Regions from separate parts of the Homo sapiens genome. Here regions 2, 3, 4, 5, 6 and 7 are each linked to region 1. Evidence: promoter capture Hi-C in 16 types of primary human blood cells and fetal thymus (Javierre and others, 2016). All regions are on one chromosome and are shown on one strand. The core of a region is centred on a gene start or on the middle of the fragment in contact, and the rest is flanking DNA. Distances in the headings are between cores, read along the strand shown.

Evidence for each region. Contacts are between HindIII fragments. The CHiCAGO score rates a contact against its expected background, and 5 or more counts as called.
Region 2: a fragment that was not itself captured here is called in contact with the fragment with the promoter of DEGS2 in region 1 in 1 of 17 cell types (fetal thymus); the score reaches 5.5 in fetal thymus.
Region 3: a fragment that was not itself captured here is called in contact with the fragment with the promoter of DEGS2 in region 1 in 9 of 17 cell types (total CD8 T cells, total B cells, activated CD4 T cells and 6 more); the score reaches 7.2 in total CD8 T cells.
Region 4: a contact is called between a fragment that was not itself captured here and the fragment with the promoter of DEGS2 in region 1, in 1 of 17 cell types (total B cells). The highest score is 5.4, in total B cells.
Region 5: a contact is called between a fragment that was not itself captured here and the fragment with the promoter of DEGS2 in region 1, in 1 of 17 cell types (total B cells). The highest score is 5.1, in total B cells.
Region 6: a contact is called between a fragment that was not itself captured here and the fragment with the promoter of DEGS2 in region 1, in 1 of 17 cell types (endothelial precursors). The highest score is 5.2, in endothelial precursors.
Region 7: a contact is called between a fragment that was not itself captured here and the fragment with the promoter of DEGS2 in region 1, in 1 of 17 cell types (total B cells). The highest score is 5.3, in total B cells.

What each region holds. Positions count from the first base shown.
Region 1 is chr14:100,157,503-100,161,353 of GRCh38, forward strand. It overlaps DEGS2 (delta 4-desaturase, sphingolipid 2), which reads right to left and starts at 2,143. Exons shown (of 3, transcript NM_206918.3): 1 at 2,004-2,143. The coding sequence starts at 2,085. It overlaps LOC124903380 (a long non-coding RNA gene), which reads left to right and starts at 2,535. Exons shown (of 2, transcript XR_007064330.1): 1 at 2,535-2,629; 2 at 3,806-3,851. RefSeq lists silencers at 1,930-1,989, 2,090-2,489. The HindIII fragment of the contact is 5,862 bases long and covers 1-3,646 here.
Region 2 is chr14:99,962,412-99,966,311 of GRCh38, forward strand. It overlaps the pseudogene VDAC3P1. Among named protein-coding and RNA genes, the nearest start is that of EVL, 100 kb to the right of the region's middle. The HindIII fragment of the contact is 917 bases long and covers 2,044-2,960 here.
Region 3 is chr14:99,998,162-100,002,398 of GRCh38, forward strand. It overlaps a transcript of EVL not described here. Among named protein-coding and RNA genes, the nearest start is that of EVL, 65 kb to the right of the region's middle. The HindIII fragment of the contact is 5,752 bases long and covers 1-4,237 here.
Region 4 is chr14:100,357,606-100,361,572 of GRCh38, forward strand. It overlaps WARS1 (tryptophanyl-tRNA synthetase 1), which reads right to left. Exons shown (of 11, transcript NM_004184.4): 4 at 2,949-3,057. Among named protein-coding and RNA genes, the nearest start is that of WARS1, 16 kb to the right of the region's middle. The HindIII fragment of the contact is 2,546 bases long and covers 1,445-3,967 here.
Region 5 is chr14:100,308,622-100,312,281 of GRCh38, forward strand. No RefSeq gene overlaps it. Among named protein-coding and RNA genes, the nearest start is that of MIR345, 2.6 kb to the left of the region's middle. The HindIII fragment of the contact is 155 bases long and covers 1,563-1,717 here.
Region 6 is chr14:99,917,292-99,920,951 of GRCh38, forward strand. It overlaps EML1 (EMAP like 1), which reads left to right. Exons shown (of 22, transcript NM_004434.3): 16 at 491-558; 17 at 3,498-3,586. Among named protein-coding and RNA genes, the nearest start is that of EML1, 130 kb to the left of the region's middle. The HindIII fragment of the contact is 2,698 bases long and covers 668-3,365 here.
Region 7 is chr14:100,384,914-100,389,020 of GRCh38, forward strand. All of the region lies in intron 2 of WDR25 (WD repeat domain 25), which reads left to right. Among named protein-coding and RNA genes, the nearest start is that of WDR25, 10 kb to the left of the region's middle. The HindIII fragment of the contact is 1,585 bases long and covers 1,217-2,801 here.

The sequences.
Region 1 (3,851 bases), core at 893-3,392:
TGAGCAGGGAGGGAGGGTCAGATGACCCCCAAGGTTCCTCCCAGCCCTCCCCAGGAGTTCCACAGCATACGGGAGGCAGCTACCACTGCTGGGACCAGACGATGCTGGGCTGCAGCTCACCTCCCAGGAGAAACCACAGCAGTCACAAACCCACATAGAGGCTTCCAGCTCCTGAGGCCCCAGTTACCCCGGGATGCAGTCACAGGCTAGCCACCCAATGTATCTTGGGTTTCAAACATTTAAAAGTCATGGTATCTCAGTATGCTGCCATGGGATTAAAAAAAGAGGAAGAAAGAAAAAGTTGGCTGGGCGCAGTGGCTCACACCTGTAATCCCAACAGTTTGGGAGGCAGAGGCGGGTGAATCACCTGAGGTCAGGAGTTTGAGACCAGCCTAGCCAACATGGTGAAACCCCATCTCTACTACAAATACAAAATTAGCCGGGTGTGGTGGCGGGTGCCTGTAATCCCAGCTACTCAGAAGGCTGAGGCAGGAGAATCGCTTGAACCTGGGAGGCGGAGGTTGCGGTGAGTGGAGATCGCATCACTGCACTCCGGTCTGGGCGACAGAGCAAGACTTCCTCTCAAAAAAAAAAAAAAAAAAAAAAAAAGTTGTTCAGGCCAGGCGTGGTGGCTCATGGCCCATGCCTGTAGTCCCAACACTTTGGGAGGCTGAGATGGGTGGATCCCTCGAGCTCGGAAGTTTGAGACCAGCCTGGGCAACATGGCAAGACCCTGTTTCTAGTAAAAATACAAAAAAAATAGCCGGGCATAGTGGTACACACCTGCAGTCTCAACTACTCAGGAGGCTGAGGTAGGAGGATCAGTTGAGCCCAGTGGGGAGAGGTTGCAGTGAGCTAAGATCGCGCCTAGCCAACATGGTGAAACTCCATCTCACTACAAATACAAAAATTAGCCGGGTGTGGTGGCAGGTGCCTGTAATCCCAGCTACTCAGAAGGCTGAGGCAGGAGAATCGCTTGAACCTGGGAGGCGGGGGTCGCAGTGAGCCGAGATCGCGAGACTCTGTCTCTAAATAAATAAATTAATTAAATTAAATAAAACGCCCGATTAAAATGTGAAACCTCCATCAAATAAGTGCAAATTAAAGCCACAGTGAAATGGTATTGTTTCCCCAATCTGACTGAAGATTACAAAGTGTGGCAACGCGCGGTGCTGACTTAGGCAGGGCGGGAGGGGCGGGCCTGTCTCAGCCTGTGGCGATTTGGTGGCATCTGGCAAAAGCCACTCTCCAGACGCAGGCCCTTTAACCCCGTAAGCCCGGGCCAAGGACGACTCACCGGGGCCACCTTGCTTGTGGGTGGGATGGGGCCTCTGGCATGAACGAGAGTGACTCCGAGTGGGTAAAGATGCCCTCCTCGCAGAGGACACGAAGCAACAAGGAAAACAGCCACCACGTAATAAGCGACATGCCAGAATAGAAGGATTCTTTAGTACAATCTTTGCTTTTTTCAAAGAAAACACGCGCGCCTCTCATTCGCGTTTGCTCCCTTCCCGGCGCTCATCCGCCCTGAACTCCAGCCTGGGGCGCCCGTGGCCGCGAGACCCAGGGGCTCTGAGCGCAGCAGGCGCCCAGTGACTGCGGGTGGAGGCCCCGCGTCGCGCAAGCTGCCTCCGCGCCAGGGAGCGCGTGCGCCTCGTAGCGCGTCCCGGGGCCGCCCCTGCGCCCTCGCGTCCCAGCATCCCAGAGCCCCGGCCCTGGCCCCGGGAGTGGCTCGCGAGGAACAGCTGGGACGCGCTCCCTGGCGCTCGGACCCGTACTGGGGTCCTCGGAATCCTCAGGTCCCAGGGAGTTTCAGACCCGGCCAGGGTGGGGGACCCTCGGGGAGCCGGCCGGGGACCCCAGGGAGGGGAGCGGCAATGGCGGAACGCCCACTGGAATTTGGGCCAGAGCTGGAGCGGCCCGTCTGGGCTCGACCCCACGACGCGACTCCAGACGGGCCAACGGGGCGGTCCCCACCGGGGTGGGCCCCGCGCGGCGCTCACCCAGTATCTCCTTGCGCCGCTGCGTGTGCGGCTGGTCGGTGTAGACCCACTCGAAGTCGCTGCGGCTCGCGCTGTTGCCCATGGTGGGGCGGGAGGCGCCGTTCGGAGCGCGGCCGGCTCGGCTCTGCTGCACCTGTCGCGGCGGCCGCGGCGCGGAACCAGCTCTGATTAGGGCGGGGGCGGGGTCCCGGCGGGGCGGGGCCAGGTGCGCCAGGCTTGGGGCGGGGCACCTCTGGCTGGGCGGGGCGGCCGGGCCCCGGCGCTCTCCAGACCCCGGCGGGTAGCTGGCGCTTTGGGAACCTCAGTTGCCTCGGTTGGAAATGGGGCTCCCCGGCAGGACCGAGGTGGCCGCGTGCCATCTGCGCGAGTCCCTGGGTCCCTCGATGCGCGGGGGCGACTGCTGCCACCGCGGCCTCCCACCGGCTCTGCGCGCCCCGCCCACCCGCGGGCAGCCGTCGGGTTTTTACCCCGGCCCGTTCTCTCCGCAGCCCCGACCCGCTCGCGGGCACGCCCCTGTGGCTCGCGCCGCCCCTGCCCCAAGGAGGAGCGGCTGGCAGGATAGGGGGACTGCGGAGGATCGGCGTGGAATGGATGCGACGGTGCCAGTAAACAGGCGCCGAGGAAAGGTTGGTGCAGCAATCCTCCCTTCCTCCACCCGGCCCTTTCACCAATAATGCAAAGGGGAGATAATGCGTCTGCAGCAACCTCACAGGGATGAGTCAGACCCACTCCTGCCTTCAGGGAACTTGAGTTCTGGATGGGGACACAGGTACAGAAGTGGCTGTTATGATTCAGGGTGATACGTGCCATGACACAGGTAGGCCCTGAAGCAGCTAGGATCCAATAGAAGGAACTTTTGCATTGGGCCTTGAGGGGTGGGTAGGAGTTCAACAGCTAGAAAAGGGAAAGGCATTGGTGCTAGGGGGAACAGCAGATGCAAACGCTTGGAAACAAGGCAGAACCTGAATGTTCTCAAATGGAAAGTCTAGTTTTGGGGAGGTAAGGGCACAGGGCCCCTCATCTTCACCCTCTCAGTGATGCCTCTGTTCCTTCTCCCACTCCCTTGGAGTTTTGGAGGGTGGACCTGCTGTGCCTGTGGGCCAGAGCCTGGCCTCGGCTGGCAGTTGCCTGGGAGCTGACTGACACATCAGCCAGCGCTGCCACAGGCTCGCACATAGTGAGGGCGTGCTTCTGTGCGTCCCATGGAAGTCCATGGCCCGGGGTTTGGTACACTTGGCAGGCCTTCCTTAGCTCAGGGCCAAAGGCAGTCCTGAGTGAGCCAGGAAGGAAGGCATGGGTGTCCTGCAGCCGCCAGCCACCATCCCCTGAATTAGCCATGGGAAAGGTGGACACAGAGGCCAGATTTTCCATCAGCAGGGGGACCCACATGCCACCATGGCCATCACCCCTTGCCACACCCAGGAGGCCTCCCGGCCCAGCTTGCACCCTTGGGAGAAGACTCATTGCTCCCAGGGCAGCCTGCTCTGTTCCCAGCCAGAAGGGTCCTCAGAAGTCATCCCACCAGCCATCACTTTACAGATCAGGAGACTGAGGCCCAGAGATGAGGAGCGCCTTGCCTGAGGCACAGAGGAATTAACAGCAAGGCTGGGGCATGACTTTGGCCCCTGACCTTTGAATTAAAAAGCTTCCAAAATCAGAGCCTTCGCCCCTGTGTTGAACTCCGTGAGATCTGCCGCCCTGAGCCCCAGCTCCACCCTCAGGACAACACCAAGCCTGCCAGTTCCCTCTGCCCCAGGCCACCGCCTATCCAGAGGAAACTCACCAAGGCCCTCATTTTCCAGATGAGGAAACTGAGGCCAGAGAGGGGACAAGTCAGAGGACATGCTG
Region 2 (3,900 bases), core at 1,252-3,751, 190 kb before region 1:
CCCAGTCTTCCAGCCAGCAGAGTCGTGAGCCACATTTATCCAGCCTCAGGTATTCCTTTATAGCAACAGTAAACAGACAAAACCAGATCTTATCAGATATATGATATTTGCAAATATTTTCTCTCATTCTGTGGGTTGTCTTTTCACTTTCTAGATGGTATCATTTGCAGCAAAAGTGTTTAATACTAATGTGGTCCAATTTATTTATTTTTTCTTTGGTCACTTCTGCTTTTGGTGTCATATCTAAAAAGCCTCCGCCAAACTCAAGGTTATGAAGATTGCATGTATGTTTTCTTCTAAGAGTTTTATAGTTTTAGCTCTTATATGAAGGTCTGTGATCCATTTTGAGATAAAGTTTATGAATGATGTAAATAAGGTTTCAACTTTAGTCTTTTGCATGTGGGTATCTAGTTGTTTCAACACCATTTATTAAAGCCTGTTCTTTAACTTGGCGCCCCTGTTGATAATCAATTGACTGTAAAGTTAAGGGTTTATTTCTCAACTCTCTATCCTATTTTTTTTTCTTTGAGATGGAGTCTTGCTCTGTGGCCCAGGCTAGAGTGCAGTGGCGTGATCTTGACTCACTGCAACCTCCGCCTCCTGGGTTCAAGCGATTCTCCCGCCCTCAGTCTCCCGAATAGCTGGGACTACAGGCGCATGCCACCACACCCGGCTAATTTTTTGTATTTTTGGTAGAGATGGGGTTTCACCATGTTGGCCAGGCTGGTCTCGAACTCCTGACCTCAGGTGATCCACCTGCCTCAGCCTCCCAAAGTGCTGGGATTACAGGTGTGAGCCACCACTCCCTGCCTGGACTGTCTATTTTATTCCATCAATGTATATACCTGTACTTATTCTTTTTCAAGACTCTTCTGGCTATTCTATGGTCCCTTGCATTTCCAGATGAATTTTAGGATCAGCTTTCTAATTTCTGCACAAAATAAAAGTGGAAGCAGCTGGGATTTTGACAGGAATTGCATCGAATCTGTAGGTCAATTTGGGCTCTCTTGCCATTTTAATAATATTAGCTCTTTCAACCCATAAATGGATATCTTTCCGTTTATAGGTTTTCTTTAATTTCTTTCGGAGTCGTTTCATAGTTTTCAGTGTACAAGTCTTACACTTTTTTTGTTAAATTCATTCATAAGTATTTTATTGTTTTGATGTCATGTAAATAGAATTGTTTTCTTAACTTCATTTTCAGATTCTTCATAGCAAGTCTATCGAAATACAATTGATGTTTATATGTTTATCTTATATGCTTGGACCTTGCAGAACTTGTTTATTAGTTCTGATAGTTTTTGAGTGGGTTCCTTAGGAATTTCTATAGGTAAGATAATGTCATCTGAAAATAAAAATGGTTTTACCTGTTTTTGTCACTAAAGTTCTCTTGGAACACAGTGACATCCACTCACATATGGTCTATGGCTGTCTTCAAGTCAAAGGCCAAGGGAAGTAGTTGTGTTCCCGGAAGCAAGTCAGGTCCAGCTGCCTCTTCTTGAGTCCCAATAATGAGAAGCAGACAAACTAGCGAAGAAGGGAATTGGCCAGGTGCGGTGGCTCATGCCTGTAATCCCAGCACTTTGGGAGGCCGAGGCGGGCGGATCACCAGGTCAGGAGATCGAGACCATCCTGGCTAACATGGTGAAACCACGTCTCTACTAAAAATACAAAAAAAAAAAAAAAAAAAAAAAAAAAAATTAGCCTAGCGTGGTGGCGGGTGCCTGTAGTCCCAGCTACTTGGGAGGCTGAGGCAGGAGAATGGCGTGAACTCTGGAGGCGGAGTTGCAGCGAGCAGAGATTGCACCACTGCACTCCAGCCTGGGCGACAGAGTGAGACTCCGTCCCAAAAAAAAAAAAAAAAAGGGAATTTATTGCTGTAACCGGATACAGGCAGAAGGCCAGAGATAATTCCACCAGACCAACTCAAAGTGTTAGAATTGCTTATACAGGTTGGAGTTATGTGCCTACGTGCAGCACAACATTCGCCTAAGTCTATTGGTAACTAATTTTGTTTCAACTAGAAGGTCAGAGGCAAAAAAAAGCTTGTGGGAGACAGGCCCTTGGGGGTGGAGGTCTTTGATTTCATAAGAACCTGAGAAAGATTTTTCTAAGATATGTGTAACACACCAACTTACTGTGACCTGGGAAAGGCTGCTGAGGATGTCTTCAACAAAGGATATGGCTTTGGCATGGGGAAGATAGACCTGAAAACCAAGTCCTGTAGTGCAGTGGAATTTTCTACTTCTGGTCATGCTTACACTGATACAGGGAAAGCATCAGGCAACCTAGAACCCGAATGTAAGGTCTGTAACTATGGACTTACCTTCACTCAAAAACGGAACACAGACAATACTCTTGGGACAGAAATCTCTTTGGAGAATAAGTTGGCTAAAGGGTTGAAACTGAGTCTTGATACCATATTGGTACCAAACACAGGAAAGAAGAGTGGGGAATTGAAGGCCTCCTATAAATGGGATTGTTTTAGTGTTGGCAGTAATGTTGATCTAGATTTTTCCGGACCAACCATCTATGGCTGGGCTGTGTTGGTCTTTGAAGGGTGGCTTGCCGGCTATCAGATGAGTTTTGACACAGCCAAATCCAAATTGTCACAGAATAATTTCGCCCTGGGTTACGAGGCTGCAGACTTCCAGCTGCACACACATGTGACCGATGGCACTGAATTTGGAGGTTCTATCTACCAGAAGGTTAATGGGATTGAAATGTCAATAAACCTTGCTTGGACGGCTGGAGTAACAACACCCATTTTGGCATTGCTACTAAGTACAAGCTGGATTGTAGAACTTCTCTCTCTGCTAAAGTAAATAATGCCAGCCTGATTGGACTGGGTTATACTCAGACCCTTCGACCCGGAGTCAAATTGACCCTTTATCAGCTTTAATCGATGGAAACAACTTCAGTGCAGGAGGTCACAAGGTTGGCTTGGCGTTTGAACTGCAAGCTTAATGTGGTTTGAGGAAAGCATCAGATTTGTCCCTGGAAGTGAAGAGAAATGAACCCACCATGTTTTGGCCCTACAATCCTTCTGTGAAATTTCAAAAGTGTGAACTTTTTACTCTTCCAAAAAATTGTAATCCTCCCCACACTGAAGTCTAGGGGTTGTGAGTCCCTCCTGAGGGGAGGCGCTGGAAAGCATGCCTGGAAGCTGTCCTGTTTGTGCCACGTTTCGGTTCAGTTCTGCAGTGTTATTAAATGTGTTCCTCGGCGACAGTGTGGTGTCATGTTAGAGGAGACGATCTGAACCTCCAGTTTGTACCTCGTGTCCTGCATGTTCACACCATTTTTTTCATGACTCTGTAATATATTGGTCTCTGTGCTATTGTGGAATCTTTGATTTTGCATCAGAGTAAAATAAAATAAACCCATCACATTTGGAACATAAAAAAAAAAAAACAAGCTAAGTCTGATTAAGCTGTGTGGGCCCCAGTACCTTCAAGGCCTGTCTCCTGTGGTACCAGAGTGATTATTTCTATCTTATCTCCTTTACAGCTTGGTCTGGAGTGCTGCCTTAGACTCTCTGATGAATCTATTCAAACAGCTGCCTCTGTTACCTTGACTCGTCTCAGATTTTGTCGACCCGAGGCAGGTCCTGGCACTAGGAATGTTAGATTCTATTATTTTGACTTGCTCCAGGTTAGGGAGAAGCCCATGCAAGGCTTCTACTGACCGTATGCTTTATTTGTAGCTTTGATGTCTGGGCACCGATTGCCCTAGGTTTAACTATTTGCTCAGTGTTAAGGCAGCGCTGTGGAAATCTGTGTAACTGGGGTGCTGTGCAGGCCTGTCTGTCGACTGTCATACAGGCCCGTCTGTGTGATTGTCAGGGAGAATTGGCCTGCCACAGTTGTGACAGACCACATGGCTTTGAAAAAGCCAAAA
Region 3 (4,237 bases), core at 730-3,229, 160 kb before region 1:
GATCTGCGCCACTATGCCTAGCTAATTTTTTTATTATTTGTAGAACCATGGACTTACTGTGTTGCCCAGTGTAGTCTCAAACGCGGCTCCAGTGATCCTCCCACCCCAGCCTCCCAAAGTGCTGGGATTACAGACATGAGCCCCTGCACTCCGCACAACAAAATATTTATTATATGCATAGTGGTGTTCCGGGTCTAAGATCTGACTCTCCTCAGCTTGTTCTTTCTCCTTCCCATGGATCTCTAATTTGAGATATTGTCTTATCACTTTAATGCTGTCAGAATAGAGGAGTATTTATTTTGTACAAGCATTGTTATCTGTATGCTGGGAGGAGATACATACACACACACATATATATACATGTCTGCATCTATAAAAGTTACTAGTTTTGTAAAAATCATACTTGCTCATTCTACAAATTTTGCAATACAGAAAAGTACAAAAATAAAGAATAAATCATCTGACATGCCTTGGAAATTAGTAGTAGTTAGCATTTTGGCTAACATGATTCCAAATTTTTTTTATACAAACATATATACAGATAAAAGCATAATAATAATGGAATAACTGTGTTTACTAGCGTTTATGTATGGTTCTAGGATGAGCAACTTTATATGCATTATATCATTTGATTCTCACAAAAAACCCTCCAAGATACATAATGTTGCCCCATTTTGCTCAGGAGGAAATTGGTGTTTAGAATAATGAAGTAAATTGTCCAAGGTCCAGTAATGGTCTCTGAATCTCAAGACCATGCTATTACACTATGTGGTGTATAATATTATGATGGTGCATAAGTGAGAATATACTGTCTATACTTTTATATTTGCTTTTTTATTTGATTTGTGGAAATGTTTATTATACTTTATAATTTATAAATTATAGTAATTTATAAATTTATAATAATTTTCTATAATGTTTTTATTCAACAGTAGTAATGTTCATGCAGTTAGTGAAGGGCTATATTTCTAGTGACTGGTACTCTGTTGTGTCTACCATACATTATTTGACCAGTCCCTTGCCAATGGATATTTAGTTTTTTGCTATTTGAAGTCACATAGGAATAAATATATTTGTGCCCTTTTGGTTTTAACTTATTCTGTAGTGATTAAGAGTACAGATTCTGGAGTCAGGCAGCCTGAATTTGAGTGTGATCAGCTCTGCCACTTTTGAACTATGTGATCATGAGCAAATTACTTTACCTCTCTGTCCCTCAGGTTCCTCATTTATCAAATGGGAAAAATAACAAGATCTCTTTGCCATTCCCTCAGGATTAAATCCGCTGACACATATAAAGAATGTAGAGCAGTGCCTGGGACATAATAAGTACTCAATAAACAGCACTTTAACTTTTAGCTAAATGTGGTGGCTCCTGTCTATAATCACAGCTATTCAGAAGGCTGAGGCAGGAGGATCACCTGAGGCCAGGAATTAGAGACCAGCCTGAGCAACACAAGACCCTGTCTCTAACACTTTTTAAAAAATTAAAATAAAACATGTCAGCCTTTATTTATGGGTGGTGGTAGGAATTCTTCCTTTGAGGCGCCATGGATTGCTTCTGCAGAGAGATGTCTGTGGACCCCTGGAGCTTACTATGAAGAGGGCATACTGTGGTGGGGGGTCACTCTCTTCCCCTGTGAGGCCATCAGCACAAAAGTTTGTGTTTTCTGGGATCAACAGATGCCCTCAGGGCAAAAGGGGCTCTGTGCTCATTTGTCTTTTGGGGAACCCCTGTTTTTCTCTTTAGTTTTTGCCTAGTAATTCTTTACTGTCTTCACAGCCATTTGAAGCCTTTAGAAGTGCTTTTTGTTTGCTTGCTTAACTGTGTTACCTGGCATTTTTGGTTATTTCACCAGAAACATTGATCTACAGCTAGTCCACCAGTATTGGAATGGAATAGGAAGTGTGAACCCCGAATATCTGAGATAGGTCTCAGTTAATTTAGAAAGTTTGTTTTGCCAAGGTTGAGGACACGTGTCCATCACACACCCTCAGGAGGTCCTGACAACGTGTGCCCAAGGTGGTCAGGGCACAACTTGGTTTTATACATTTTAGGGAGACATGAGACATCAGTCAATAAATGTAAGATGTACATTGATTTTGTCCAGAAAGGCAGGACAACTCAAGCAAGGATGGAGCTTCCAGGTCATAGGTAGATAAGAGACAAACTGTTGCATTCTTTTTTTTTTTTTTTTTTTTTTTTTGAGACGGAGTCTCGCTCTGTCACCCAGGCTGGAGTGCAGTGGCGCGATCTCTGCTCACTGCAACTTCCGCCTCCTGGGTTCAAACGATTCTCCTGCCTCAGCCTCCCGAGCAGCTGGGACTACAAGCGCGTGCCATCATGCCCGGCTCATTTCTTGTATTTTTAGTAAAGACGGGGTTTCACCGTTTTAGCCAGAATGGTCCCGATCTCCTGACCTCGTGATCCGCCCACCTCGGCCTCCCAAAGTGCTGGGATTACAAGCATGAGCTGTTGCATTCTTTTGCATTTCTGATGAGCCTTTCCAAAGGAGGCGATCAGGTATGCATTTATCTCAGTGAGCTGAGGGATGACTTTGAATAGAATGGTAGGCAGGTTTACCCTAAGCAGTTCCCAGTTTGACTTTTCCCTTTTGCTTAGTGAATTTGGGGCCCCAAGATTTATTTTTCTTTCACATTTACCCCCTTTTCTTTTTAAAAATCTCTTGGAGAAAGCATTTTTGGAGAAAGCATTTTAGAAGAAAATGAGTCTCTGGTCTCAGGTTTTGTCTGATCTCTCATGGCTAGGATGGTTTATTCCTAGACAGGTAGGTCCTGAGTTATTAGGAATTATATTAATAGAATAATATTAGGAATATTATTTTAGCAGGTTGAGAAGTCTCATGTCCTATGAAGAGAAAATAGGGGGAGGAAGGGAGAAAAACAACAACAAACAAAACAACAATCCTGGAAAATTGATAGAGGCCACGTTACTCTGAAGTCCATGTATCAGTAGGCAGGTATGAAAGTGGCTTATGTATGTAAATAGGTTGCTGTTATTTTCTTCTGAAGTTTAGTTGTCTGGATTAAGTTTGCAAGGCTTTAAGAAGCACAGCTTAGTTTTCAGTGATTTCAAATTAGGAAAAAACGGAAGGAAAAGGAAAAGAAAGAAAAAATTGAAAACATTATTTTGGAAACTTATAGCCAGGAAAAATTAGAATTCAGCCCAAACTATAGAAAATAATAAAAACTGGAAAACATTAGGACTAGAATCTAGCAACAGGTGTGTTATAGTTTTTGAAATAGAATTCGTCTCTCTCTCCAGTTTCCCGTTTTTACTAAAGACAAATCATGGTAGGACTGATTTGCTTTATTATACTTGGACAGATTATTTGTATAAAGTGCAGCGAGAGTAATTATTTCTCACATAGGCTTTTAAAATTGGCTTTGGTGGAACTTTGTTCCATTGAAGGAGTCTCAGATAAGGCTTTTTAAAAGACAAGCCCAGCCGTGGATTTGTACCATCAAATAACTATGAGTCAGGTGAATTTTTCTTCCTCTTGAAGTCCCATGATAACCTGGGGCTCCTGGGCCTGTCAGAAAGTGACATTCTTTACTTACCACAGGTCAGGAACCCTGTACAGGGACTGTGTAGACAAGGTATGAGGCTAGTTTTCCCAAGGGGATTTTATTGGCTCTGTAAGTTAAGTTTGATTCCTTAAAGGAAAGCATACCATTCTAGTCAAAGCCTTGGTAAAATAACCAGTTTCGCCTGTTACAAATGAAAACAAACTTTTATTGTACTTATGCAAATAACTATATTGCCATACATTAAGAATACTCACAGATAGTTTCCAAATTCTGGAGGAATCAAGTAGAGAGAAACAAATATCCTCCAAATTTTGTTCATAGGAGTATACCTAGTTTCTGTCAATAGCTCAAAAGAAAAGTTTCCTTGACTCTAAAAAACAAAGGATCAGCAACGTTTTAAGCAAAAAGTCAAAAAGATAACTTCAGTCCACTATTAGTTCAGTCCATGCAGTTAATTCCTGTTCTGCTTGATATCCATGAACATTTCGCTCTCCATGAGTCCTGAAAGTTTTTCGTCATCCTGATGTCACAATCTCCAAAGTTATCAGAAACCTGCATTCAAGAGCACCTGTTAGAGTTTTATAGCTGATTTTAAAACCACCTTCTAAAGAGGACCAAAAGGAGACAACAATTGTCTGTAGATGACAAAAAGTTTTTATGGCAGCCATATTCAGAGACACAACTGACA
Region 4 (3,967 bases), core at 1,468-3,967, 200 kb after region 1:
CGCCCACCACCATGCCTGCCCAATTTTGTATTTTTAGTAGAGATGTGGTTTCACCATGTTGGTCAGGCTGGTCTCGAACTCCTGACCTCAAGTGATCCACCCGCCTCGGCCTCCCAAAGTGTTGGGATTACAGGTGTAAGCCACCGTGCCCGGCCATCAGTTGTATTTCTATATAGTAGCAATGAACAATCAAAATGAGATTAAGAAAATGCCATTTAGAATAGCATTAAAAAGATAAAATTCTAATGAATAAATCTAAGCAAAGAAGTGCAAAACCTATACACTGAAAATTACAAAACATCAATGAAAGAAATCAAAGAAGTGAAAAGACATCCCATGTTCATGGATTAGATGAATTAATATTTTAAGATGGCAATACTCCACAAATGAATCTACAGATTCAGTGCAATCCCTATCAAAATCCTAGCTGCTGCTTTTGCAGAAATGGAAAAGCTGAAATTCATATGGAAATGCAAGGGGCCCAGAATACCTAAACAATCTTGAAAAAGAACCATGTTTGAGTACTCACATTTTCTTATTTTTTTTTGAGACGGAGTCTCACTGCCACCCAGGCTGGAGTGCAGTGGCGCGATCTCGGCTCACTGCAAGCTCCGCCTCCCGGGTTCATGCCATTCTCCTGCCTCAGCCTCCCGAGTAGCTGGGACTACAGGCGCCCATCACCACACCTGGCTAATTTTTTGTATTTTTAGTAGAGATGGGGTTTCACCGTGTTAGCCAGGATGGTCTCAATCTCCTGACCTCGTGATCCGCCTGCCTTGGCCTCCCAAAGTGCTGGGATTACAGACATGAGCCACTGCGCCCAGCCAAGAATAGTCTTTTCAAAAAACAGTGCTGGGACAATTGGATACCCACAAGCAAAAGAATGAAGTTGGAGCTGTACCTCACAAATATACAAAAATTAACTCAAAAAGGATCAGAAACTGAAATGTAAGAGCTAAAACCACAAAACTCTGAGAAGAAACCATAGGTGTAAATCTTCACAACCTTCGATTAGTCAGTGGTTTCTCAGATATGACACCAAAAACACAATCAATCAAAGATAAAATAAACTGGACTTCATCAAAATTAAAAACTTTCATACTTCAAAGGACTATCAGTAGAGTGAAGAGACAACCTATATAATGGGAGCAAATATTTGCAAGTAATATTTGAATAAGAAACTAGTATCCAGAATATAGAAAGAACTATTATAACTAACAATAAAAAGACAACCCAATTAAAAAGTAGGCAAAGGATCTGAATAGACATTTCTCTAAAGATATAAAAATTGTTAATAAGCACATGAAAAGATTCTCAACATCCTTGTCATTAGGGAAATACAATCAAAACCACAATGAAATACTACTTCACACCTATTAGGATGGCTATAAAACACAACAACATGGAAAATAACAAGAGTGGGTGAAGATGTGGAGAAATGGGAAGCTTCCTATGTTGCTGGTGGGAAAGTAAAATGATACAGTTGCTGTAGAAAAGTCTGTCAGTTCCTCAAAGAGTTAAACATGGAATTACTATATAAGCCATTAATTCTATTTCGAGGTATATGCCCAAGAGAATTGAAAACATATATCCACCCAAAAACTTGTATACAAATGGTCAGAGCAGCATTGTTGATAACCAAAAAGTGAAAATAACTCAAACGTCCATCAACTAATGAATGAATAAACAAAATGTGAGGTATATCCATTCAATGGAATATTATTTGGCAATAAAAAGGAATCCAGTATGGATACATGCTACAACATGGAGGAACCTTGAAAATGTTATGCCAAGTAAAAGAAGCCAGACACAAAAGGCCACATGTTACATGATCCCATTTATATAAAATGCCTAAATCTAGATATAGAGAAAGCAGACTAATGGTTGCCAGTGGGGAGGGAGAAATGGGGGATGACTGTTAACCCATTTATGCCTACCTACTGTTCCAAAATTGGAATGCTAAACTTGTGGGAGTTATTGATATCTTACTGCTCAAGGTGATTGCCAAGGTCTGATTTTTCACAAAAAATTTTTACAACTTCTGGCATAAATGGGTTAATGGGTAGAAGTTTCCTTTTGGGGTGATGAAATGTTTTGGAATTAGATAGTCTTGATGGTCTCACAACCTTGTGAATATACTAAAACCCACTTAACTGTACATTTAAAAAAATAAGTTTTATAGTATGTGAATTAAGGAAAATTTTTTATTATATTCCACCCAGAAAGTGGGTTGAGCAAGGCCTGGAGTTCTTTGCAGGTAGAATTTGAAGTGTTTGGGCAGACTGCTGGGCTCTGTCCTGGGGTTGTTCTCCTGTAAGCGTGAAGTGCCAGTAGAACAGAACAACCCTACATCAGATCATAAATTCCATGGACACAGCTTCAAAAAGGGGGCTGCCTCAGCCCAGATAACTGTAGGTTGGGAGAGGCAGAAACTCTTTTGGAACCTGCCCATATCTTGACGTTATCTGCGTGGAATTTACGGCCTAAGGTACAGATAATCTGTTCCATGCATTCTCTGTTGGTTTGTCTGTTGGTATTGTTTATGAGCAAGTCAATACAATAGGAGGAAGAGGGTTTGGAATTTCAGGAAGCCTACTGTTTGTCATGTGGGAAATGCTGATCTTGGACATATTATTCTCTTTTGTTTTCATGACATTTTATAATTTCTTTACAGCCTGTAATCTGGGAAGAATCTCACCTGCTATTAATATGATTCCCACCTTGTGAGGTGGGCAGTCTACAAATGAAAAAACTAAGAGCCTGAGGGTGATGGACAAGCATGATCCCACAGTGGGTTACTGACAGGACAGAGGATGGATCTCAGTCTTACCACAGCTGGCCATCACTTTTCCCACAGTACCAGGTGGCTTATGAAGAGAGTGTCTTACGATTTTTTTGAACTAAAAGAAGAGGACAGGTGAGAAGGCCTGTGGTGAAGAGCCCCTGACCTGTGTGAGAAGAAGATGCCTCTGCGCAGGAAGTGGTGTGGTCTTTGGCCGGTGGCTCTCTCTATTCGGTTTATTAGCTCTTTGTCAATTTTACTACTTCCAAACCGAACTGGAAAAAAAGAAAAGATGACTTTCTTAGGTGGCAGGAGGTTTAGTGATCAGATATTACTGAAATGAAGATGAAAAGTGAGTGATCCATGCACAATCTTAATGAACACAAACCTCTTTAGGCCTTCTGCTAAAGGTCCTTACCCCCAACATGAAGTAAAAGGTCTTTGGATTAAAACAACAGCTGAGATCAACACAACCAACAAAACAGGAAATAAATTACAACACAAAATGCTGTTTTGCCTGAGACTGGGTTCTGATGGGAAACATATTCAGAATGCAGTCCAGCTAGCAACTTTTGACAACAAAATATAAACATATACATATATAAATAGGTATATATATATATATTTGTTTATTAAGGTAAAATTTATATTCATTGACAACCATGATTTCTCACATTCTTTATTTGTTGAACTGAATTAATGTCGGTCTTCAAGTGAATTTTCCCTCATTGATAGTCTATACTGAAATCATGGAAAATGGCTTTGACTTAGATGAAAACATTTCAGTTCTGTTTCTTCTCTGATAATTAGCAATGATCTCAGAGTAAAGACTTCAATGGAATGGCAACAGTCTTTCCTGAGCAGGAAGGCCCTCAAGGAAGGGCATGACAGTAAGAACTTGCCCGATGTGAGAAGTCACTGCTCTTAAGCTGACTTCCAGCCTTCTAGGTCCATAGTCAGTATCACTGGAGGTGAAACCTAAGTAATCTATGATTGACTTGTAGCCACTAAATGTTATAAATGGCCATTTCAATAGACCTTTCCCAAGTTCTGAAGTGCTCAAAAAAAGGGAAAACCTTCTATTAAGCTGTCTACTATAGATCATTATTTTGAAATATATTTTATATTGTTATTTTATTTTAAAATAATCCTTTGGGAATATAATGCACAACCAAAAGATTTTAG
Region 5 (3,660 bases), core at 390-2,889, 150 kb after region 1:
TGGTGGCGCATGCCTGCAGGCCTGTAGTCCTAGCTACTCAGGAGGCCGAGGCAGGAGGGTCGCTTGAGCCCAGGAGGTCAAGGCTGCAGTGAGCTATGATCGAACCATTGTGCACCAGCCTGGATGACAGAGCAAGACCCTATTTCAAAAAGAAAAACCTCCTTGCAGGGAGGGTCCTTTGTTGAGAGAGCTGAGGCAGGCCGTGTGAGGGCAGCAGTGGGATCGTGCCAGGCCTGGGAGATGAGGAGTGCGGGCCCTTAGCTGTGCACTTTGCAAGGAGAGGGCAGGGTTCTGGGTGTGTGTGTGTGGTCGGGGGAGGGCTGTTGGATTTGGGGACTAAGGTCAACATGTGGGGGACAGTGGAGGACTGGGCTCTGGGACAGATTTGCCTGACCTGACCCGCCAAGGGAGCCTCAGCTCCCTTGTGGGTGACAGGGGGCTGCCTTCAGCTGGAAGTACCCTGAGGGCAGGTCCCAGGTCTGTCCCCTTCATCTTGGTGTGCCCAGGGCCTGCACAGTTGACACTGGGTGGGGGACATTGGGGAGGGGGTGAGGACAGGCACTGGAAAGGGATGCGTCCACACGGGTGTGCTGCTGGGTTACTAAACTTTGCAAAACCACATCTTCCTGAGCACCCTGTTTCCCTGCTGCCTGGGAATCATGCACTCAGTCGGCGCACTGCCCTGTGCCCTGTGTTGGGGACAAGACAGACACAAATCCCTGACCTCCATGTCAGGGCTGAGGAGAGACCAGAAAGGAGGAGTGAAAAAGTTGGTGCCAAGTAAATGAATCCGTATGCCTACATCTTGGACACTTGGGTTCAGTGTCTATTGTTTTATTTCATTTCCTGAGGATAAGGTTACAGCACAGAATGTGCTTTCTCAAACTCCCATGTTCCACAGAGCCCTGGACCTCCCATCCCAGAGGAGGCAGGGCTCTGTGCAGCCCTGAGGACCCCAGCCTTTTAAGGGGCAGGGCAGACCCAAGGCCAGCACAGGACAGCAAGGCCGGAGGGACTGTCACGGGGCACCGAGGGTCAAGCCAGCTCACTGGAAAGGGTGTGTTGGAGTTTTCCCTGTGTACAGCTTTTATTCTCACACAAGACAGGTTCAGTGTGGAGAAATCAGAAACGCCAGAAAGTAAAAAGGAAACGCAAGTCTCTGTCCCCACCCTGGAATCTTGGAGCTGAATGACCCCCTGCAGGAGCTGTTTGGGCCAGGACTTGGGGGGGGTGGCTGCAACTCAGGCTGCCAGAGGGCAAGTTGAGGGGGAGAGGATGAGGCACCAGCTGTGTAGACCTTCCCAGGAGTTAGGCTGTGCAGGGGAGAGTGCACAGAAGGGCTCTGGCAGCAAGCACAGGTGTAGACTCGGGATGGGAGCCACCTGAGCAGGTTGCAAACTCCTGGCCAAAGATTGGTGGGGCCGGCGCGCTGTCAGTCGCCTCCTGTCTCATATTGGAATACTCGAGCTCAGTGCCATGGTGTGAGGCCCAGGGTAACCAGACTACAACCTCACCTCCCACCTTTCATGCCCTCTGGCCCTCTTATTGGAGCCCACCCTCTAAGCTTGTGCCCCTCTCAGGGCCTTGGCACTGGCAGCTCCTCTGAGTCCCTGGGGTCCTTGGGAAGGGGCCTAGTAGCCTGGGATTACAGGCACCCGACACCATGCCTGGCCAATTTTCTGTATTTTTAGTAGAGATGGGGTTTTGCCATGTTGGAAGCTTCTGCCTGGCCTGGCGTCGTTACCTCTAGAACTTGGGTTCTGGCTGGGCGTGGTGGCTCACGCCTGTAATCCCAGCACTTTGGGAGGCCGAGGCGGGTGGATCATGAGGTCAGGAGTTCAAGACCAGCCTGGCCAAGATGCTGAAACCCCGTCTCTGCTAAAAATACAAAAAAATTAGGCGCGGTGGCAGGCACCTGTAATCCCACCGACTCGGGAGGCTGAGGCAGGAGAATCGCTTGAACTCAGGTGGCGGAGGTTGCAGTGAGCCGAGATCTTGCCACTGCACTCCAGCCTGGGTGACAAGAGTAAGACTCCATCTCAAAAAAAAAAAAAATACAAAAATCAGCTGGGCGTGGTGGTGCATGCCTGTAATCCCAGCTAATTGGGAGGCTGAGGCAGGAGAATTGCTTGAACCTGGGAGTCAGAGGTTGCAGTGAGCCGAGATCACGCCACTGCCCTCCAGCCTGGCAACAGAGGGAGACTCTGTCTCAAAATAAATAAATAAATAAACAAACAGGATTTGGGTTCCTGCTCAATGCTTACCTCTTCAGAAGGGGCTTGGCTGACCTGCCATGGTCTGAATGTGTGTGTCCCCCCAAAGTTCATATGTTGAAGTCCTTTTTTTTAACTTTTAAGTTGAGGGGTACATGTGCAGGGTTGTCGTATAGGTAAACCCATGTCATGGGGGTGTGTTGTGCAGATTATTTTGTCACCTAGGTATTAAGCCTAATGCCCACTGATCCTCTCTCTCCTCCCCTCCACCCTTAGGTAGGCCCCAGTGTGTTTTGTTCCTCATATGCTGAAGTCTTAACCCCGGAGGTGATGGTGTTAGAAGCAGGGCCTTTGGGAGGTGATTAGGTTATGAGGGAATGGGATTGGTGCCGTGTGTGTGTGTGTGTGTGTGTGTGTGTGTGTGTGTGTGTGTGTGAGAGAGAGAGAGAGAGACAGGGTCTCGCTCTGTTGCCCAGCCAGAGTACAGTGGTGCAGTCACAGCTCACTGCTGCCTCAACCTCCTGGGCTCAAGCCATCCTCCCACCTCAGCCTCTTGAATAGCTGGAACCACAGGGGGCAGGTCGCCACGCTGTGCCCCACCAGCTTTGCCTCCTCCCAACCTGAGCAAGGGGCGAGCAGGCAGCCTTGGAGCCCAGCCTGGTGAGAGGACCCAGACTCTGCTCTGTCCTGCTGTGTGGCCTTGGCCACAGGTTTTCCCTCTCTAGACCTCTGGGGTTGGAATTGGCCAGTGGGTCCCTGTGGGGCTGAGTTGCCGCCACCTTGGCAAACAGCTAGGAAGGCAGATTTTGAGGCCCTGCCCCAGACCTAAGAAGTCAGCCCCAGGGAGCAGGTAGAGACAAAAGCTGCGTTTAAACCAGGCTCTTTAGTGGTTCTAAGGTGGCTGTGAAACTGTGGGTTGAGACCATCTCTAAGGATAGATTCAGGAAGATCCAACTTGAAGGGGTGGGTTGCCCCTCCACACCTATGGGTGTTTCTCGTTAGGTGGAACGAGAGACTTGGAAAAGAAAGAGACACAGAGACAAAGTATAGAGAAAGAAAAAAGGGGGCCCAGGGACCGGCGTTCAGCATACGGAGAATCCCGCCAGCCTCTGAGTTCCCTTAGTATTTATTGATCATTATTGGGTGTTTCTCGGAGAGGGGGATGTGTCAGGGTCATAGGATAATAGTGGAGAGAAGGTCAGCAGGTGAACACGTGAACAAAGGTCTCTGCATCATGAACAAAGTAAAGAATTAAGTGCTGTGCTTTAGATATGTATACACATAAACAGCTCAATGCCTTACAGAGCAGTATTGCTGCCCGCATGTCCCACCTCCAGCCCTAAGGCGGTTTTCCCCTATCTCAGTAGATGGAATATACAATCGGGTTTTACACCCAGACATTCCATTGCCCAGGGACGAGCGGGTGACAGATGCCTTCCTCTTGTCT
Region 6 (3,660 bases), core at 767-3,266, 240 kb before region 1:
AGGCTCAATGGCTTACACCTATAATCCCAGCACTTTGGGAGGCAGAGACAGGAGGATCACTTGAGCCCAGGAATTCGAGACCAGCCTGGGCAGCATAGGGAGACTCCATCTCTACAAAATTAAAAATTAAAAAATTAGCCAGGTGTGGTGACACACACCTGTAGTCCCAGCTGCTTCAGAGGCTGAGCCAGGAGTGTCACTTGTGCTGCAATAAGTCATGATCATGCCATTGTACTCCAGCCTGTGCAATAGAGTGAGATCCTGCCTCAAAAAAGGGTGGGGGTAGGTAGAAATTTAGCATTATTGAAACGCAGCATTCATTCAAGCAGGAAAACATTTTTCTCTAGAAAAGAGACTTTTCAAATAGAGCCATATAGCCCTAAGGAATTAGAAGTGTGAGCGTTTGTGTGTGCACGCACTCACGTGTGTGTGTTTTATGCTATAGTGTTCTATCTGTTCATCAATTTACACTTCCTTTAAAATATTTTAGGATCCAGCTCAGTCTTCTGGTTTTCATCCTTCAGGGTCTGTGGTTGCAGTCGGAACACTCACTGGGAGGTAAGTCCATGCCAACAGCGCTTGTGCTTGCAAAGCTTATGGAAAAGAGGCCTGTTGTTTCTATTTCCCCAGGAACAGGCCCCCGTTCAGCTCTTGGCTACATGTTCGAAGCTTCTAATGACTTACCAAGAATTAAGTTAAAAGCGAAACTTGAAACAGTGGCCCATTACATTTTGAGCCTTGGGGAATCTGAGGAAAGCCATAGACCCTCTCTCCTGGAAAAGGACCCTCTACCTCCACTAGACACACACACACTTTTTTTGTTTGTTTTTTGAGACAGGTCTCTCCTTGTCACCCAGACTGAAGTGCAGTGGCACAATCACAGCTTACTGCAGCCTCCAGGGCTTAAGTGATCCTCCCACCTCAGCCTCCCAAGTAGCTGGGACTACAGGCATGCACTGCCATGCTCAACTAATATTTTATCTTTTGTAGAGACGCAGGTCTCACTGTGTTGCCCAGGCTGGTCTTGAGCTCTAGCTCAAGCAGTCCTCCCACCTCGGTCTCCCAAAGTGCTGAGATCACAGGCATGAGGCACCACACCCAGCCACACACACATTTTGCCTACAATCTCGAGGATTTGTGGAGCTTCTCAAGCCCTGATCTTGAGGCTGTGGGAGAAGCCTTGATTTTGGAATGAAGCAAGAAAACATTTCAAAGTGCTGAGCATTTAAAAATGCTTTTTCTACTCCTGGTCACAGTGGCTCACACTTGTAATCCCAACCCTTTGAGAGGCCTAGGCAGGAAGATCGTTTGAGGCTAGGAGTTCGAGACCAGCCTGGGCAACACAGCAAGACCCTATCTCTATAAAAAATTTAAAATTGAGCTGGATATGGTGGTCCACATCTGTATTAGCTACTCAGGAGGCTAAGGCAGGGGGATCTCTTAAGATCAGGAGTTCGAGGCTGCATCGCACTATGATTGCACCACTGTACCCTCGCCTAAGCCACACAGCGAGACCCCATCTCTAAAAAAAATTAAAAATAGAAAATAAATGCTTTTTCTAGCTGCCCTTTCAAAATTTCAGGAACTGCCCAGACCCTGAGCCTCATATTCCAATTGAGTTAATACCTATTCACCTGGCACCTCCTACACACCGGATGGTGGGTCTGCGTTTGCAGCTCAGCTTTGCCACTTAGCAGCAGTGTCTTTGAGCCGGTTACATAAGCTCTCTGAATTTGTTTCTTTTTCTGTAAATTGTGATATTCCCTGCCTGGCTGTGTTGCACTGAGGATCGAAGGAGACAGTGCACACAGCACCTGCCAGGGCTGCCCATCAGGCACTGCAGGGGTTATTATTATCATTGCTTTCCAGGTTTTGATTGAACATTTATGCTGCTCATTGTACTGTATACATTTACTGTGGTTTCAGTCAAATATTTTTCCTCCCACCCTTCCTCTCTAAAAAAGCGTAGCACTTAAATTCTGTTGCTATGACTGCAGAGCCTATATGGATAAAGAAAGTGTAGCCCTTTGCAGGTCATAGGTAGCAATATCTTAAGTATTGGGCTCCATGTAGCCAACAGAATTCTTCATGAAAACGTTTGTATAGCCACACACACACATACGCATGCACACAGACACACACACACACACACACACACACACACACACACACTCCACCTCCCATTTGACTCTCTTTGAGACAGGTAAACCTTCTAACTCATCAGGCTCCCACCTTCTGATGACTGGCCTCCCAATAGGCTGACGGATGCCAGCATGCCTACTGTGTGTGTAGGACACGGTGACAGTGCTCAGAATCACAGTGTCCCATGGTGGAGGAGATGGATCGGGTCACCTAATCCAGCCCCTCATCTGTACCTCTTGCCATTCAGGTCCTAGGTTAGGCTTAGCTCCCGATGCTGTTGATTTAACAGGTCACTTCAAAGCCATGTTCTAATCAGCCCCAGCCTTTATTAAGGTTAAATAGCACATTAAAGGTAAATGGTTGTTGAAGATGCAAGAAATTGGCACTGAAAAGCAAAATCCACATTTCTGGGGGGCAGGACATCTGACAGTGCCTGGCTAGGGGGGCTCCTGTGGAAGACAAGGGACACTCACTCTGCGTCAGTGGACATGCTGATGGGATGTCCTCAGGCAGGTTAGAAACTGCAGCAACAGTTTATCCATTTATCCTTATCCATTTATCCATTTATCCTGAAAACACCAGGGGCTCACCACCACCCCTTGAGAATATAACAGGCAGGAGAGTTCAGTCATTCTGATGTTAACACTCATTTAGTGGGTACTGTGTGCTTATCAGAGGATACAAAGCACTTCCATGTCCATTATCATTCGACTTTAATATTGAGCCTGCAGAGTAGACCTGGGCTCTTCTCCCCATCTCACCACTGAGGAAATGGCCCAGCGAGGTGAAATTAGAAGACCAGTCCTCCACTCCAATTTCTCCCATTTGCTCTGTGCTTTCCCTCGCCCTGTTGGTTGCAGGCTAGCATCCCCATAAGGCCTGTACTCTTGGCCTGCTCTGTCTGCAGCACCATTGGGAACACCACCACCCCGGAGTTGTCCCAGCCCCATCCTCCTGCATGGTCCTGCTTCGCCCTGGAAACCTGGGTGAGCTCTTGCAGGTGGTCCTTCACTGCTTCCTCTCACCATATGCCCTGGCACTAGGTATTGGCATCTTCCCTGCCCAGAGCTTTCTCTCCATGTGTAAATGACAAAGCACAAACACAGAGAAACCATGTCATAGTGTTGATAATGGCATAGTTTTGAATGCTAGCCAATATGCTGTTCCTTTCATTAGAAAATGCTTATATATAGGAAATTTTCTTTGAATGAAAGCTGGGAACAAGCTTTCTTATTAAGCAAATTCTGAGTATTTATTAAGCTTTTATGATTAACAATTTTTATTCATCCCACTATTATATAATCTTCATTTTCTTATTAAACAACTTACTGTGCTTTTTCTCATGTTGATAACAGGTGGTTTGTGTTTGACACAGAAACAAAAGACTTGGTCACCGTTCACACAGATGGAAACGAACAGCTCTCTGTAATGCGATACTCACCAGGTTAGACTCCAAACCATTCACTACTTTATTTTTTTAATCAACTTTTATTTTAAGTTCTGGAGTCCATGTGCAGG
Region 7 (4,107 bases), core at 759-3,258, 230 kb after region 1:
CCTCACTTCTGAGCCTTCATTTGAGTATCTATAAAGTGGAGAGAATTAAACATGCCTCGCTGGGTTTTTGTGAAAAGTAAACGATATTAGTTGTGAATCACCAAGTGCAATGCCTGGCACATAGCAGGCACTTAGTGTGTGCTCGAGTTCCTGCTTTTCCCCAAGAATTTCCTCCTTTCCTTGACTTGTGCTCATGTCTTATTTTACGTAAGTAGCCATGGAAGCATATCAGCTTCACCTACTAGACTTTAAGCTTCCTGAGCCAGAACCCATTTTTATATTCCCCAGCATCTGGCACAAAATTGTGTACATGTTAAGTGATCGATAAAAATTAAAACAAATTTTTTGGATTTTATCGCAAGCCTTTGGGAAGGGATTGTCTTTTGAGTGGATAAATCATATTCGCCACTAGGGTGCACAGTAAGACTTAATATAAGCAGCTCATCCAAGCTTCTAGAATGTGGAAGAATCCTTGATTCAAGGTAACATTTACTGAAAAATGATTTCTTTCTGATCAGGAGAAAAACAACACAGTCCAACTTATTAATCTAAAGAACATGGAGTGCCAGTTCCTTCATATCCTTAAAACGTAGCTTCGGAATTCATACATTTCAACTGGACACATTACAGTGGAAAGATACTTATTTTAATATGTTCTAAATGTTCTGTGAGCTGTAAAATATGCTTTTATTAGTTTTGAAAAATTTACAGCTAGAGAAATTAAGTAAAATAAAACAATGACTCATAATTCTGCACCGCTGCTCTTTCCTGACGATCCCTTCCTCCCCTTGTCTGTGAACGTGCTTGTTTTTTTCATAGCTGTGATCCCAGCACGGATACCCTTTTATATACTCTTTTCATCTCCCAGTGAACTCTTTTGGCTTAACGTGTTTGAACACCCACTGCACGTAAAGGTAGAAATTCAGACTTTGATGCCTTTTTTTGAAGGAAAACATGTACGTGGCCTGCGTTAACCAAAAACACAACCAGCCGTTATTGAATGCTCCCATGTACAGAACCCTCTGCCAGGCACTGAGAGGGAGTCCCAAAGGAATAAGACCTTTGGGTGGGTGACAGAAGACCCACCAGGGACCTTCTGTACCTGTATGAAAACCTGCAGTTCTGAAACACAGAAGGTTTTTAAAGAAAATATATGAATTAGATGTTGTTTATTTGCTTTACAGAATAATTTGCTCTAGAAATTCTTTCAGTAACAAGCTTCCTTAAAATACTTTGAAAAAAAACCTTTTAATTTTTGACCATGAATGTAATAGATGCTTATTGTGAAAAACTTTAATGATGCAGGAAATATGAAGTATGAAGGAGAAACAGAAATCATTGATAACTCCCAACCCCAAGTCAGTGCCTCATTAACATGAGGGGCCTCCCTGGTCGGGGGCCCTACATTCCTATCTGTTTACATAATTGGGCTTATTGCATAGTATGTGCAGTTTTGAATTCTTCCTCTGCTGCCCAATCTTCTGTAACGTGTAAGGGGAATTTTTCTACCTTATTAAAAACTTTTCCCCAAATATATTTTTATAACTGTCTCAAGTTTCATACTTTGCTCCATCATTTCCATGTTGTTTCCTATAATTTCCTGCTTTTGTTTAAAAAATAATCAGTATTACAGTGAATATGGCTATACATAAATATTGTCTTTTTTTGCTGCCTTAATGCAGTTAAGATGGGCTTTGAGGCCAGGCGCGGTGGCTCATGCCTGTAATCCCAGCACTTTGGGAGGCCGAGGCAGGCGGATCACGAGGTCAGGAGATTGAGACCATCTTGGCTAACATGGTGAAACCCCGTCTCTACTAAAAATACAAAAAATTAGCCGGGCGCGGTGGTGGGCGGCTGTAGTCCCAGCTGCTCGGGAGGCTGAGGCAGGAGAATGGCATGAACCCAGGAGGCGGAGCTTGCAGTGAGCCCAGATCGCACCACTGCACTCCAGCCTGGGTGAAAGAGCGAGACTCCATCTCAGAAAAAAAAAGAAAAAGATGGGCTTTGATTTACACCCAGGCATTAGCTAAAGCCCTTGTGTGTGGTGAGAGTGGGACCTGATTAGATTGGCAAACCTTCAGTACCACTGTTGTACTCCTTGGCTCCCATGCCAAATCTTCTGCTTGGTAGCTGTGTGACTTTGGGAAAATCACTTAGCCTCTCTGATCCCCTAGTTCCTCACTGGTAAAATGGGGATAATTGGTAAATGGCCACCAATTAAGGTTGTTGCTGTAGAGCTGAAATGAGAAGATCCAGCCTAGTGCCTGACAAGGGAGAGGCTGAGGAAGCATGTTTCTGATTCCCCTGTACCTGTCTTGATTAGTTATAAAACAAAGTGTAGAAAAGACAAATCACCCAGAATCCTCCAACTTACTGTAACTCTTGTTTTTTGTGAATCTTTTCATTGTCTCTATGCACACGTTTTTAAAGCGTTTCAATCTCAGTGTTCTTGAGATAAATACTTTTAGAATCTAAAGAGTTTGAGGATTGTCTGTGCCAAGCCATTCATGCACTCCCTTTTCATGTACTGAACACTTGGCAGGTCTGTGTTGGAGAGCTGGTTCCCTGTCCCCAAAGTGGTCACATTTAAAGCATGGATGAGAGGATGGAGAGCGCTAGCCATTGCTGAGTGCTTACCATGTACTAGGCATGTTCTAAACGCTCCGTCTCCTCTTCATTACAGGCCTGAGAGGCCACTTCTGTCCTCATTCCCATTTTACAGATGAGGAAATTGAGGCACAGAGAGGTCAAGAGACTTGTCCGTGGTCACACAGCTAGTAAATGATAGAGGCAAGCAGGGAAGCTTCAGACTCAGAGCCTGAGCAGAAAGAGCTACCACCACTCACGCTGCCCTCCTGCCTCTGAGAATAAGGGATGGAAAAGCGCATCCCCTTCACCCAGGTGGTGTCCAAGCTCTATCCCAGCTTCCAAATTTTGTGGTTCTGTTAAGGGACATACAGAGAAGAGATGATTTCTGGGGTGGTTTGGATTTGCATTTTTATGTATCACAGGATCCTGTTGATTTATCATTGTTAGTGAATCTGATTACATTAAGATATCTTAGATGTGCTTTGTAGAAAGTGATCTATTTCACATTCAAAGACAAGGGATTTATGGCTCTAAGTGCCAGAGTGAGGGTTTATTTCAGTTTTGAAAGAATTATTCTTGATGGATTTTACAAAATGAGATTGAGAAATGATTTGATGTGTGGAGTGAGGAGTTGTGGAGCATTATGCAGATGATTGGCAATTTATTCTAAGCACGAGGCAAATCTATTGGCAATGAGAGGCGCAGCTGGGAAGGAGGTTTGGGTGGTGGTAGTGGGCCTTTGGTATTTGGGGAGTGAATGATTAACAGTGCATCCAGGGTAATTAGATGAAGGTGAGGAGAGAATTGGTGATGTGTGTGTGCGCATGTGCGTGCATGCATAGCGTTCATCTGGTTCATTTGATAGAGGCCCATAGAGGGGAAGACACGCCCGAGGACACACAATAGGTGTTTGGATGCTTCCTAGTCTGGACACTATATTTGCTTCTCTTCTTTCCCACCTTCCAGAGGACTTTCAGAATCATCTGAATTACCCCAGGATTGGGAGTGTGGGGCTTTAGACTGGTTGGCAGCAGAGCTGCCGAGCCTCTGGGAAGAGCCATGAGATTCTGAGCTGGAATCTTCTCTTCGTGGGAAGTGAAGTTTTTTTGACACTCCTCCTCCCCCATGTGAAAGCCGCGACATTTCTGAGGCCAACAAATGAGACATTTCCCAGTTCCAGTTGCCTTACAATCTTGTATCTTACAGAAAAAACCTTGGGTTGAAGAGGAATAAGAAAAGGAAAGTGTAGCAGAACCCAAGCTGTGTTTTCTGCTTTTTAATAACTTCATTCCATTTAACTTAAACAGTTCAGTGTACCAAGGGCGGGGCCTTGTGCTCGCCAGAAGCTGACAGGAAGAAAACAGCCGTGTGAAGGTGCAGCCTCTGTCCTCGAGAAGCAAGCCTCATTCACTCTCATCCCATGTCATTAAGGGAAGGATAGAGCAATTTGGAAAAATGCTTTTAATGTAATTGAAAAATGCAGATTGCAAAATTGGCGCACTTAGGAGTCGAGACAGT